Linked DNA regions of Homo sapiens: region 2 is linked to region 1. Evidence: promoter capture Hi-C in 16 types of primary human blood cells and fetal thymus (Javierre and others, 2016). All regions are on one chromosome and are shown on one strand. The core of a region is centred on a gene start or on the middle of the fragment in contact, and the rest is flanking DNA. Distances in the headings are between cores, read along the strand shown.

What was found. Contacts are between HindIII fragments. The CHiCAGO score rates a contact against its expected background, and 5 or more counts as called.
Region 2: a contact is called between a fragment that was not itself captured here and the fragment with the promoter of RGS10 in region 1, in 1 of 17 cell types (activated CD4 T cells). The highest score is 5.2, in activated CD4 T cells.

What each region holds. Positions count from the first base shown.
Region 1 is chr10:119,539,987-119,546,025 of GRCh38, reverse strand. RGS10 (regulator of G protein signaling 10) reads left to right here and starts at 3,307. Exons shown (of 5, transcript NM_001005339.2): 1 at 3,307-3,436. The coding sequence starts at 3,388. RefSeq lists enhancers at 1,544-2,052, 2,315-2,394 and silencers at 2,605-2,764, 2,815-2,884, 2,895-3,634, 3,685-3,854. The HindIII fragment of the contact is 10,649 bases long and covers 426-6,039 here.
Region 2 is chr10:119,318,149-119,324,187 of GRCh38, reverse strand. The region is part of intron 1 of GRK5 (G protein-coupled receptor kinase 5); the gene reads right to left. Among named protein-coding and RNA genes, the nearest start is that of GRK5-AS1, 18 kb to the left of the region's middle. RefSeq lists an enhancer at 5,584-6,039. The HindIII fragment of the contact is 775 bases long and covers 3,468-4,242 here.

The DNA.
Region 1 (6,039 bases), core at 2,058-4,557:
TTCATTTTACTATACCTTGTCTGCCTCAACTGGCCTAGAATAGTCTTGTTACATAAATTCTGGTGATGAGAGGCTCTAAAATGTATTCACAGCTTACCAATATTTTAGTTTCTGGGTAGAATGAAAATATTGAACTCCAAAGCCAGTAATCCCTCTGAAATCTTGTGTTACCAGAAGACATCCGGGGCTCTTGCTTCTTGCCTGATGTAAACATCCTTGAACCAAAAGTGAGACCAGCAGGGGAAGAAAGGGGCTAAACCGCTCATCCTCTTCTTCCCCACACTGGCTACCGCAGTTTGTTTGTGAAGGCTTGACTTAGGAGGCTAAGGAGGGAGGATCACTTGAGAGCCCAGAAGTCAGAAATCAGCCTGGACAACATAGTGAAACCTCTGTCTCAAAAAAAAAAAAAAAAAAAAAAAAAAGCTTCAGAAAGTGCATGCTGGAATTACAGGAAAAATGCCATTGGGATGGTGAGCACCTTCAATCCAATGCAAACCACGGTTGGAACTTAATCGTGTGTGTGTGTGTGTGTGTGTGTGTGAGTGTGTGTGTGTATGTGTGTGTGCATTTGGCGAGTTTTAGGAGTTAGGAGGCTTTATACTTTTATACGTGGTCTTTTGCACAATACACTTTGAAAACTGGCTTTTGAACCTTCAGACACTTAAAACAGGTATTTATAGCAATTTCAATGTCCCAGGCAAAAATTTTAAACTGTGCACTTAAACGTTAACCATGCATTTTTTTTTTTTTTTTTTTTGAGATGGAGTCTTGCTCAGTCACCCAGGCTGGAGTGCAATGGCTCGATCTCAGTTCACTGCAAACTCTGCCTCCCGGGTTCAAGCGATTCTCCTGCCTCAGCCTCCTGAGTAGCTGGGATTACAGATGCCTGCCACCGCGCCTGGCTAATTTTGTATTTTTAGTAGAGATGAGGTTTCACCATGTTCGTCAGGCTGGTCTCGAACTCCCGACCTCAGGTGATCCGCCCGCCTTGGCCTCCCAAAGTGCTGGGATTACAGGTGTGAACCACCGCACCCGGCCTTTTTTTCCTTTTTTTGGAGACAGAGTCTTGCTCTGTGGCCCAGGCTGGAGTGCAGTGGTGAGATCTCAGCTCACTGCAACCTCCTCCTTCAGATCTTGGCTCACTGCAACCTCCTCCTCCCAGGCTCAAGTGATTCTTCTGTGTCAGCCTCCTGAGTAGCTGGGATTACAGGCACCTGCCACCAGGCCTGGCTAATTTTTGTATTTTTAGTACAGATGGGGCTTCACCATGTTAGCCAGGCTGGTCTTGAACTCCTGACCTCAGGTAATCCGCCTGCCTCTGCCTCCCAAAGTGCTGGGATTACAGACGTGAGCCACAGCGCCTGGCCCTAACTATGCATCTTAATTTTTGTACTTACTCTCTGATGTGCTAACAGGACAGTAAAAGTGATTTAAGGCTGTTATATTTTCCCTTTATTTAAGAGATGCCTGGGGTTCTTAGCTCAGGAGGGATTCATAGCATGTCTTAAGCCACACCAGTGTTTTTCAGGACACGCTAGGGTGGACTTGGCAACTAGCAAAACACTGAGCTGCTGTGCCTAACTTTTACCCCTGTGTGCCAGTGTGCTTATTTCCTGTCTTAGGATTACTTGTAATTTGGTCTCGGGGAAGTTTTCTGGGTGAGTGCGTTGCACCAATTCCCTTATTGTTTTAAGAACGCAGTGACCTCACTTGGATCCAGGACTCTGCCAGCATTTAAAATCCCGCTCTTACGAAAGGTGAAACTCTTGCCTATAGTTAAGTATCACAGCTTGATCCCATTACAATGAGATGGAAGTTTGTCTGGGCCCGGAGTAGGCCAACAACAGCAGTTTTAAAAGCAGAACTCCCCGCGCTGGGTCTAACCCTGTTCTTGGTCACCGCGTTCGCTTCAGGAGCCTGGAAATCCTCTTTTGGCAGCAGAAGGGGGAGAGTGCTTGGAAATGCTCGGAGGAAAACGACTTTTGGAGGGGGAATAGCGGGGAGGGAAACAACAAGCAACCACCGGCCACACTTGGGGTGCAACTGGGGCTGTGGGGTGGGTAGAGGGAGAGGGAAAGTGAGCAGAACTGGAAGCTCAGAATAGAAGATACAAAAGAAAGTGCCAAGTAGTGAAAAAAACTGCAAAAGGACGGGGGGATGGGGGGAGGGCGACTGGGGAACGGTTTGGAAAAATAGCAATTAGTACAGCTAAAAATAAAGACCAATTTAGAGACAAAGCCAGATACACAAGGAGAAAAATAAAACTCGCCAGAAAGACAATTTCTTGCAAACCAAATGTTCAAGAAAATGGGGGCTAATGACATCCCCTCTGGGGCTGCTCCATAGAAGAAATGAAATAATAGGAGACCGTAGAGCGCGCAGCGCCCAGCAGGTGACGCCGTGGGGGCTTGAGTGGTCCCGGTCGTGGAGCCTGAAGGCCCTGCCAGAGGCAGTGCCCACGTGTCCCCAAAGTTAGAGAAGTGTCCCGAGAGCGCGGTGTGCGGGACAGAGCACCGCCCGGCGCAGGAACCGGGGGGTTCCTGCAGAATCCTCTCAGATCTCCCCGAGTCCTGGCGCCCGCGCGGCACGGCCGGGGAGAGGGCGCCCACCCGCGGCGGCTCGGCTAGCTCAGCGCACGGGCCCTGGGGACGCCCCACCCGCATTCGCGGGGCGGGAAGGCGCAGCGCCCACGAAGTCGAGGAGCAGCCAGGCCCCAGCAGGCGGGGATCCTGGTGACGAGGAGGCAAAGGCCACAGGCTGGGCCGCGCCCGGACTCTGCAGAACCGCGAGGCCTAGGCTTCCCAGCCTGTGACCCGGGAGGGGACCCCGCCCGCCACCTGCGAAGGCTCGCTGAGAGCCCCGAAGCGCGGTGCGCCCGCGGCGCCGTGCCAGTTTCTCCGGGGCTACAGGGAGAAGGCGGGAGACCGCGATGGGCCCGGGAGCTTGAAGCTGGGCGGGGCGGGCCGGGGCGGCATCTCAGGCGAGGGCCAGGGACCCCGGGACGCGCTAACCGCCTCCGCGGGGCTACTAAGTTCCCGGCGGCGCGGGCTCCCTCTGGGCCAGTGCACCTTATCCCAGGCGCGGGGCACACTCTGGGCGATCGGGGGTCACCCGGGGCTGCCCTGCCCTGCCCCGCCCGGGCACCCCGGAGCGGAACCGCGAGTCCTCACCAGCGGGGGCGGGCAGGGCGCACTGAGCGCGCCACGCGGCGCCTGGCTAGGAGGAGGGCGGCGGGCGGGGACCTAGAGCTCCGGGGCGGTGCTGAGCCCGCTCCTCCTCCTTGCCCTCCTCCTCCTCCTCCTCGCCCTCCTCCTCCTCCTCGCCTTCCTCCGGCTCAGCCGCCGCGCCGCCGGGCTGCTCCTTCTTCCTCCTCGGGCGCCCGCGGCGATGTTCAACCGCGCCGTGAGCCGGCTGAGCAGGAAGCGGCCGCCGTCAGGTAAGCGGCTTCGGGGGCCCGCGGGCTCGGGGTCGGGGCGCCGTTTCGCCCGCCCGGCCTCCTGCCCTCCCTCTTGTGCTCGGGCGCGGCTCGGTGGTACCTCCCAGACTGGAGCCCCGGCCGACCGCACCACCTCTCCCCGCTGGGTACCGCACCTTCGCGGTCCCAGCCGCGACGGGAGCGCAGAGCTCCTCCGGGAGCCCCGGGGAGGAAGTTTGGCTGAAAGAGGAACAGCCGCAGTTTTCTTTTTAGTGATGGTCTGGGAGAAAAAGGAGCGCCCCAAATCTCCAAACTTTGGAGGTGACATGGGGCTCCAGATTCCGAAAGCGGAACGGCGCGCGGGCTTCTCCCTCCGTGACGCTCTCCGCCTCCGCTGCGGGCGTGGGTGGAAGGATGCCGAGCGCCCGGGGGAGCACGGCTGGACCCGGGCATCCGACTGGGCCCCTGGGCCTGGGGCGTCGGGGGCCTTCGCTTCTGCCGCGAGGAGCCAAAAGGTGGGATCGCGAGGGTGGCGGAACCCCAGGATGGAGAAGGGCACTTCTGCGGTCCGAGCCAGCGAAGTTCTGACGTTACGAAGGATTCGCCTTGGCCGTCACTTTGGGCCAGCCTGAGCCACGATCTCGGGCAACTTGATAGGCCAAAGACCCCACGGTGAAGGTGGAGCCGTGCCCTTGATTCCGGTCCTTCCACCCTTTTGCTCATCACAATAGCTACGACCTGTGCAGGCCTTTGGGTGCGCCAAGGGCTTTGTCCACCGCGTTGGGTGAACTCTCCCTTCACCCCTAGGACAACCCGGTGAGTGAGGAGGGAGCGGAAGCCAGGCGCTGTTAGGTAACTTGCCCCAGTCACACTCCGCAGGTGATGGGGAGGCTTTCAAACCCAGGTTCCCCTGACTCTGAAGTTCGGGGGCTTTGCCGGGCTTCCCACGCCAAGATTCACTTCTGCTTGGCGCTCAGAGTCCCAACGCGTTGGTGCATTTCCTTTCTGCTCCTGGTATTTTATGAGGGACATTGTGGTTTAGAGACTGGGACCAGACTGGCTGGATCCGAATCTCACCTTCGCCATATTCACCAGCCGTGGGACCTTTCTGCAGAATGAGGTTCTGCACAGTGGGAATAACAGTAGCTACTCGCCTTTTAAAGTACTTAATTGGAACCTGTCTTCCATCCATCAGGTTTTGCAAATTATTGTATTTAATATGTAGGATTTCATAGGGTTGTTGTAATGATCTTACATTGTTGCCCGGCAAGTACTAAGTGCTCCGTTAGCGTTAGTGGTCATGTAAACCTTTTTGTGTTGCATGTGAGTCAAAGAATTCCCTTGTGGGTGTTAATGTTAACCAGTCTCTATGGTTGGCACAGGCCTGTGGAGCGCTGCTCAGAGCCTGGACTCGAATTAAACTCTTGGTTCTAACCTTGACTCTGTCATTCAGCAACACTGGGCAAATTACTTGATCTCTCTGTGCCTCCGTTTCAGTGATGTGCTGGAGCTGGCTCAAACTGGCTTGCAAGAGCCAGTTGCCAAATATTCAAAAAGTTTGGAAACTGGTTGTAAACCATAGGTAGCTTGAAAGTAGTTATGATGGGATATTTACATCATGAAAATCAACAAAGCTAAAAATGAAGGCTTCATTTTGACTCAGGAGAGCTGATGTTCCAGCACCTTTCTCCACCTGCAAAGTGGGTTTCATAGGGTTATGGGATTAAATACTCAAAACCATATGAAGCCCCTAGTACAATGTGTGGCACATAATAAAAGTGTAATAATTAGTAGCTTTTCTCCCTTTTGCCTGTTATAAATAGAGCTGCTATGAATAGCCCTGTACGCGTTACTTATTACTTTAGATTGCTTTTGGGTTGAAGACTGACAGATAGAACCATTGTATCCTGGGAGATACATGGATTTGGGGTGATTTTGCGTGTAGCCAGGTTGCACCCCAAAAAGGCTGAAGGCAGTTTTAGGGAACAAATTATTTCAGGGCAACAAATTTTAAACCTCATAAAATGTGGTTACATCACTGACAGAAAGGTCGGTCTCAGGCCGGGCTCAGTGGCTCACACCTGTGATCCCAGCACTTTGGGAGGCTGAGGCAGGAGGATTGCTTGAGCCCAGGAGTTCCAGATAAGCCTGGGAAACATGGCAAAACCCCGTCTCTACAAAAAAATTAAAAAATTAGCCAGGCATGGTGATGCGTGCCTGTAGTCCCAGCTCCTTAGACGGCTGAAGTGAGAGGATGGCTTGAGCCTGGGAGGTTGAGGCTACAGTGAGCTTAGATCGTGCCACTGCACTTCACCCTGGGTGACAGAGTGAGATCCAAAGAAAAGGAAAGAAGGAAGGAAGGGAGGAAGGAAGAAAAAAGGAAGGAAGGAAGGAAGATCAGCCACTAAACATCATGGATTGGTACTGGATGCCTCCACTCCAATAGCCTGATTTTCTTTGGAATTGTAGGTGTAGGGTCTTTCCCCATTATGGAAAATAACATAAGTTCTTGCCTGACTGGTCATCACCACCCAGCCGTGTGAAAAGAAGAAGCCTAGTGAGAAAGGGGTCATTTGGGCCTGTGGGCCGAGGTACTGAGAAGACAGCCAAGTGATTTTTGGGAC
Region 2 (6,039 bases), core at 2,606-5,105, 220 kb after region 1:
TGTAAACCACCATTTTGGGTGCCCTGAATACAAGAGAAATTCTCAGAGGATCAAAGAGAAAGCTGGTGTCAGACTTCAGGAGTGACGCGGCAGCCATGACGGGAGCAGGAGCAAGGATCTAGCTGGGGACCCAGCCTGTGAGCTCCCAGAAAAGCTGCAAGCCAGACCGGAGGCCCGCAGGGTCACCAGTGTGACCCTTAGGTGGCTTGTTTGTCTGCTTGCTTGTTCACTGAACCAGTTGCCAACATTGAAAAATTAGGAGATTCCCAGGAGCTCAGATGAGGACACAAAGGCACAAGAATGATATAATGGACTCAGGGGACTTGGGGGAAGGGGAGGAGGGAGGTGAGGGATAAAAGACTACACACTAGCTACAGTGTACCTCGCTCAGATGACGTGTGCACCAAAATCTCAGAAATCACCACTAAAGAACATTCCATGCAACCAAACACCACCTGTTCCCCCAAAACTATTGAAATAAATAAAAATGAGGAGATTTCACATCGAAATCCAGACCTTGGACGTCTCTCCCACAGCCAGGCACCCCACATGGCAAGAATCAGCCGGAGCTGGGCAGCAGCTGCCCGGGGGACAGCACATGTGGCCTCCAGACAAGCCAATCCTCATCTAGCCGCAGCCCTCATTCAGGCAGCCTAGAGGTTCTTCTGTGCACGCCCAGATAGGGCCACCCTCTCAAGAAATCAGCCTAAACCCTAGCTCAGCAGAGTCTGATGTCCCCATCCCAGCAGCTGCAAGGCCTGGGAGGGTCGTTAGAACTCGACGGGTCCATCCCCTGCTCCCCATTCCTCTCGCACACTACTGATTCTCAGACCTGGCAGGCATGAAGCACCATTTTTTGCATATGGCAAAATATGCATAACATAAAATGTACCAGTTTAACCATTATTTAGGTGAACGAGTCAGCTGCATTAAGGACGTTCCCATTGCTGTGGAACCATCACCACCTTCCATCTCCAGGACTCTTTCATCATCCCAAACTGAAACTCTGAACCCATTAAACATTAACTCCCATTCCCTCCTTCCTCCTAGCTCCCGGCAACCTCTCTCCTACACTCCATGTCTGTGATTGTGACTACTCTAGATACCTCGTATAAGGGAATCATACATGTTCTTTTGTGTCTGTTCTTTCACTTAGCGTAATGTCCTCGAGCTTCGCCCATGTTGGAGCATGTGTCAGAACTTCATTTGTTTTGAAGGCTGAATAATATTCTGTTGTATGGGTATACAACTTTTTGTTTATCATTCATTTGTGGATAGACACATGGGCTGTTTCTACCTTTTAGCTATTACGTATAACGCTGCTATGGATATTTGCAAACAAGTATCTGTTCAAGTCCCTGCTTTCCATTCTTTTGGGTATATACTCAGGAGGGAAATTGCTGGATTATATGGTATATATGTTTAAGTTTTGGGGGAACTGATGAAGCACTCTTGACAATACAGATTGCTAGGCTGTACCCCAATCCTCTGTGATTGGACCCCAGGAATGTGACTTCTTAAAAGGATCCCCAGGTGACTCTCAGGCAGCCAGTCTATGGAACCCAGGAGTCTATTTTATACATGCACACTTATAGATTTATTCATTAAGAAAGTTAACATAGGTTCACTGATTCGTTCAACCAATATGTGTTGAGCACATACTAAGCGGCAGGCCCTCTGCAGGTGCCGGACACAGTGTCGCTAGCAGGGAAGACAGACACATCCAACGCGTTACCTCAGTGGTTCCCAACCCCAGCGACGGCCTCCCAGGGAACATTTGGCAATGTCTGGAGACATTTTTAATTGTCACCACTGGGTGGAGAGGTGCTACTGGCAGCTAGTGGGTGCAGGCCAAGGATGTGGTTAAATATTGCGCTGTGCACAGGACAGACCCCTGGAACAAAGCATGGTTGGCTCTAAAATGTCAAGGGTTGGGACAAGATGTGGTGGCTCATGCCTGTAATCCCAGCACTTTGGGAGGCCAAGATGGGGGGATTGCTTGAGCCCAGGAGTTTAGACCAGCTTAGGCAACATAGCAAGACTCCGTCTCTATTAAAAATAAAAATAAAATAAGTAGCTGGGCGTGGTGGCGCACAGGAGGATTGCTTGGGCCCAGAAGTTCAAGGCTGCAGTGAGCTATGATCATGCCACTGCACTCTAGCCTGGGTGCAGAGCAAGACCCCATCTCAAAAGAAAAAGTAAGTCAAGGGTAGGGATGTGGAAAAAATGCTGCTTTACTTAATGACCATTTTACCAACATTTAGGAAAAGAACAGGGGTTGGGGGAGATCTGTTAGTGATGGGGCAGCTGTGGTGGGGTTGGAGGCGGTGGGAAAGGTAAGCCACTTGGAGGCAGCCCCAAGCCGAGGGTGCAGACTCTCCAGCTACGGCCTGGGCTCACTTTCCTCCTCAACCCTATTTCCTCAGCTTCCAGAATAGGGCAGGGGGACTGTGGTGGGCAGGATAACGCCCTCAGGGATGCCCTAATCCCTAGAACCTGTGAATACGTTAGGTTCCATGACAAATGAGCATTAAGTTTGTGGATGAGATTATGGATAATGATAGGGACATAATCCTGGATTATCCAGGTGGGCCCACTGTCACCAACAGGGTCCTAAAATGTGGAAGAGGGAGAAAGAGCAACCAGTGTCAGAGTGATGCAATGTGACGAAGACTCACCAGCCATTGGCTGGCTTGGAAGATGGGAAGGGGCCACGAGCCAAGGCATGCAGGCCAGGAAGGATTCTCCCCGGAGCCCCCAGAGGGAACACAGCCCTGCTGATGCCTTGACTTTAACTCACTGAGAGTGCGTCAGACTTCCGATCTCCAGAACGGTAAGATACTAAATGTGTGGTGTTTTAATCCACTTAGCTTGTGGCAATCTGTTACAGCAGCAACAGGAAGCTAATACGAGGATGTTCTCAGCAGGGGATCCCCCTAAATGACAGCAGACCCCAGAATGGCCTCTCACCCCATATCTGGCTTCCAGTTCCTCTAAAAGTGCCATGAAATAAACCCAACCTTCCTGACTCAGATGGGCTGGGAGAAGGTTTCACTTCTTAACAACAAACAAAACCTGCCTCAGAGAAGGCACCACGTCTAGACAAATGTTTGGCTCTCAAGCTGCTGCGGGGTTGTGAAGCTGCATATTTGATAACTGAAGTATTGGCACTGTTTATTATTTCATAGGACTTGATTGTTTCTCTGTATCCTGAGAGGGGGCAGGGCCCAGCCATGCCACTGTAAAAATTCCTCCTGTGACCTGGCCCTACGGCCCCCGCTGCCCTAGGCCCACCTCACTGCTGGGGAGGGGTGTTAGGCCTACAAGGGGCTGGGGCCATCACCTCCCACCTCCCCCGTGCTCAGGTCCCAGCAGCAGGAATGGCCAGTTCCCAGGCCTGACCACCCATAGGCTCAGCCCGTTCTCCTTGGTCCCATTCAGGGCCTCGGTGACTGTCTTCCTAAGCTTTATTTCCCTCCCTGCCTCTGCTCTCAGGGCCTTTACACTCACTGTTCATTCTGCCAGGAGCACCTTCTTCCTACCTTTCCGAATGTTTCTCACCCACACTTCCAGTCTTAGCCTGAATTCTACCTTCCTGGAGGTCTCCTCTGAGCTCGGTTGTGAAGCAGGCCCATTCTCCACGTGCCATGGAAGTGTGTAGGAAGCACTGGTCGGTCAGTCTGTCTGTCTCTGTGTTGAACTGCACATCAGCTTACAGATCCATTCTCTCAACGCATGCAGCACATTTTCATGGACTCATTCAACCTCTACGTGCCAAGTGACTGCTGGACTCCCAGACCCAGCCCACAGCTCTCATCACCACCTGAAATCTTCCCACTTATTTGTTTCCTTGCCCGTCATCAGTCTCCCCTGTGCTGATAGCGGACCCGTGGTGTCAGGGACCTGGGTTTCTTTGTTCTCTGTCACCTTCTTCTTGGTCCACTGTAGAAGCCCAAACAGTATCTGCTGAGTGAATGCAAGTGTCATGCTTTACATCCAGCCACCTGGCCACCTGGCAGCCCCTCCAATCCCTGTATACATCATTGTTCCCCCACTCCGACCCTACAGGCATGGCTTTCTCTGCCAGGAATGCTTGTTCTTCAAGCTCCAGCTCTAGTGTCCCTTCTCATGCTGCCCTGAAAAGGCAGAGCCCCCTGTCTGGATCACATCCTCTCCCAGCTCAGGTCAGACCTGCTCCCGGGAAGGAGGCGGGTGCAGCTAATTCTTGTTTAATTGCAAGCTTCCATTAAGTTACTTGGCTGACTGGGTAAAGGCATGAATGCTTGCAGGAATAAATGACAACCTCCCTCCCTGCCAGCCTTCTGGGCTGAGCACTGACCTGGGCACTGTACATTTGGCCCTCATTCAGGAGGTACTGACCCTATTCACAGATGAGAAAGCTGAGGCTCAGGGAGAGGAATTAATGGAGCCAGGGAATAAGCCACACACCCAGGCGGGAGCACAATCTTCTGCTGGCACTGGCTCACCGCTATTTCCTGTCCCGAGGAGCCTCCGGCTTTATTTGCTTTCCCAAAGGATCCTCTGCTGTTCAGGGTTTACCTTCCAGGTACCCGTAATGAGTCAGGGAAGAGGACATGGTCCCTGACCTCATCCAGCTCATTCCATGCATCAAAGAGCAAAGATGAGCAAGACAGCTGGGGTTGTAGCCAGGCAGGTAGGAGAGGTTGCATGGAGAAGGGTTGCCCCGCCAGGCAAGGGAAAATGGCAGTGACCGAGGCCCAGGGCCGATCAGGGGGGCTCCCGCTCTGGGGAAGGCACCAGAGGACCAAGGTGGCCTCGGATCGGAAGGAGTCCAAGACAAAACCTGGAGAAAGGCGGACAACAGCAAGATGGCGTGTCCCCTGATTCATGGCTCGGGCTGCCACTGGCCCTTTAGAAGGGACAGACTCTAGGGAGGGCATTGCTTGTCCAATCCCACTCTCACTCCTGCTTTCTCCAGCCCTGGGGGCCCCCTCGGCTGCCAGCTGCCAGCGATGTCCTCCAGCAGGTGCCCTCCTGCCAGACTGGGGAAGTATGTTAAGGGGAAGGCAGGGCAGGAGGAAGGAGAGTGGCCAACAAAGGAGGGTGGGGGCCCCGCAGGAGGAGGGCATGTCCTATCAGGGAAAGGAGTGCCTGATGGAAGGCAGAAGCCAAGTAATAATAAAAAGCCACTGATTCTTAAGCACGGGCCAAGCACTTGTCACAGTGAGCTACTGAGAGACTAAAGCGTTTCTTTTGCTCCTGTGGCTAACCCAGGGAAGAATAACGGTATCATTCCACCCAAAAAACTGCCATGGGAGAAGAGGCTGTCTTGGTGGGGGAAGAAACTGGCTTGCTGTTATTCTTGTTGCCTTTGCTGTTTCTGAGAGTGGTGTTTGTGTTTTCAAGGCAGGGGCTGAAATGAACCGGTGTGGAGAACAGAAGGGAGAAGCTGAGGATGGGGGAGGTGCAGTGCTTGTGGGGAGGGCAGTGGGACGACCTGAGCTCCAGGAAGGCATTGTCCCTGTGGCAGTGTCAGCCCAGTGGGATGCGGCTGGGGTGCAGCGATGATGGATTCTGAGCAGTGAGCGGCCTACAGCCCCCAGAGCCCTGTGATCACCTGGCACAGTGGAGTGGAACTGCCAGCCCAGCCCCCTCCTCCAAAGGACACTGACAAAGCCCGCAATACTGGTGATGTGGACGGTCTAAGGTCTAACTTACTGGGTTCCTTTAAGCCCAACAGGTTCACATACCATCCTTGGGAGGGATGGGATAGACCTGTGCAAAACAACTGACCCTGGACTGCTTATATGGCCTTTGCTGTACCCTCAGAGTCAGGGAATTTGCACCAGTAACATGTCATCTAGTTCAATCCTCACATCACCCCCGTGACGTAGGTCCTAGTATTGAACCCGTTTGACAGATTCAGAAATAGAGTCCCAGAAAGGAAAGAACCTTGCCTCAATCAGGGAGTGTGTATCATAACCTGAACCAGGGCTCTGCTGTTCTGACTCTTAGTCTAATGTTCTTTTCCTCCCTGGTGACAAATGTGCAATCGAT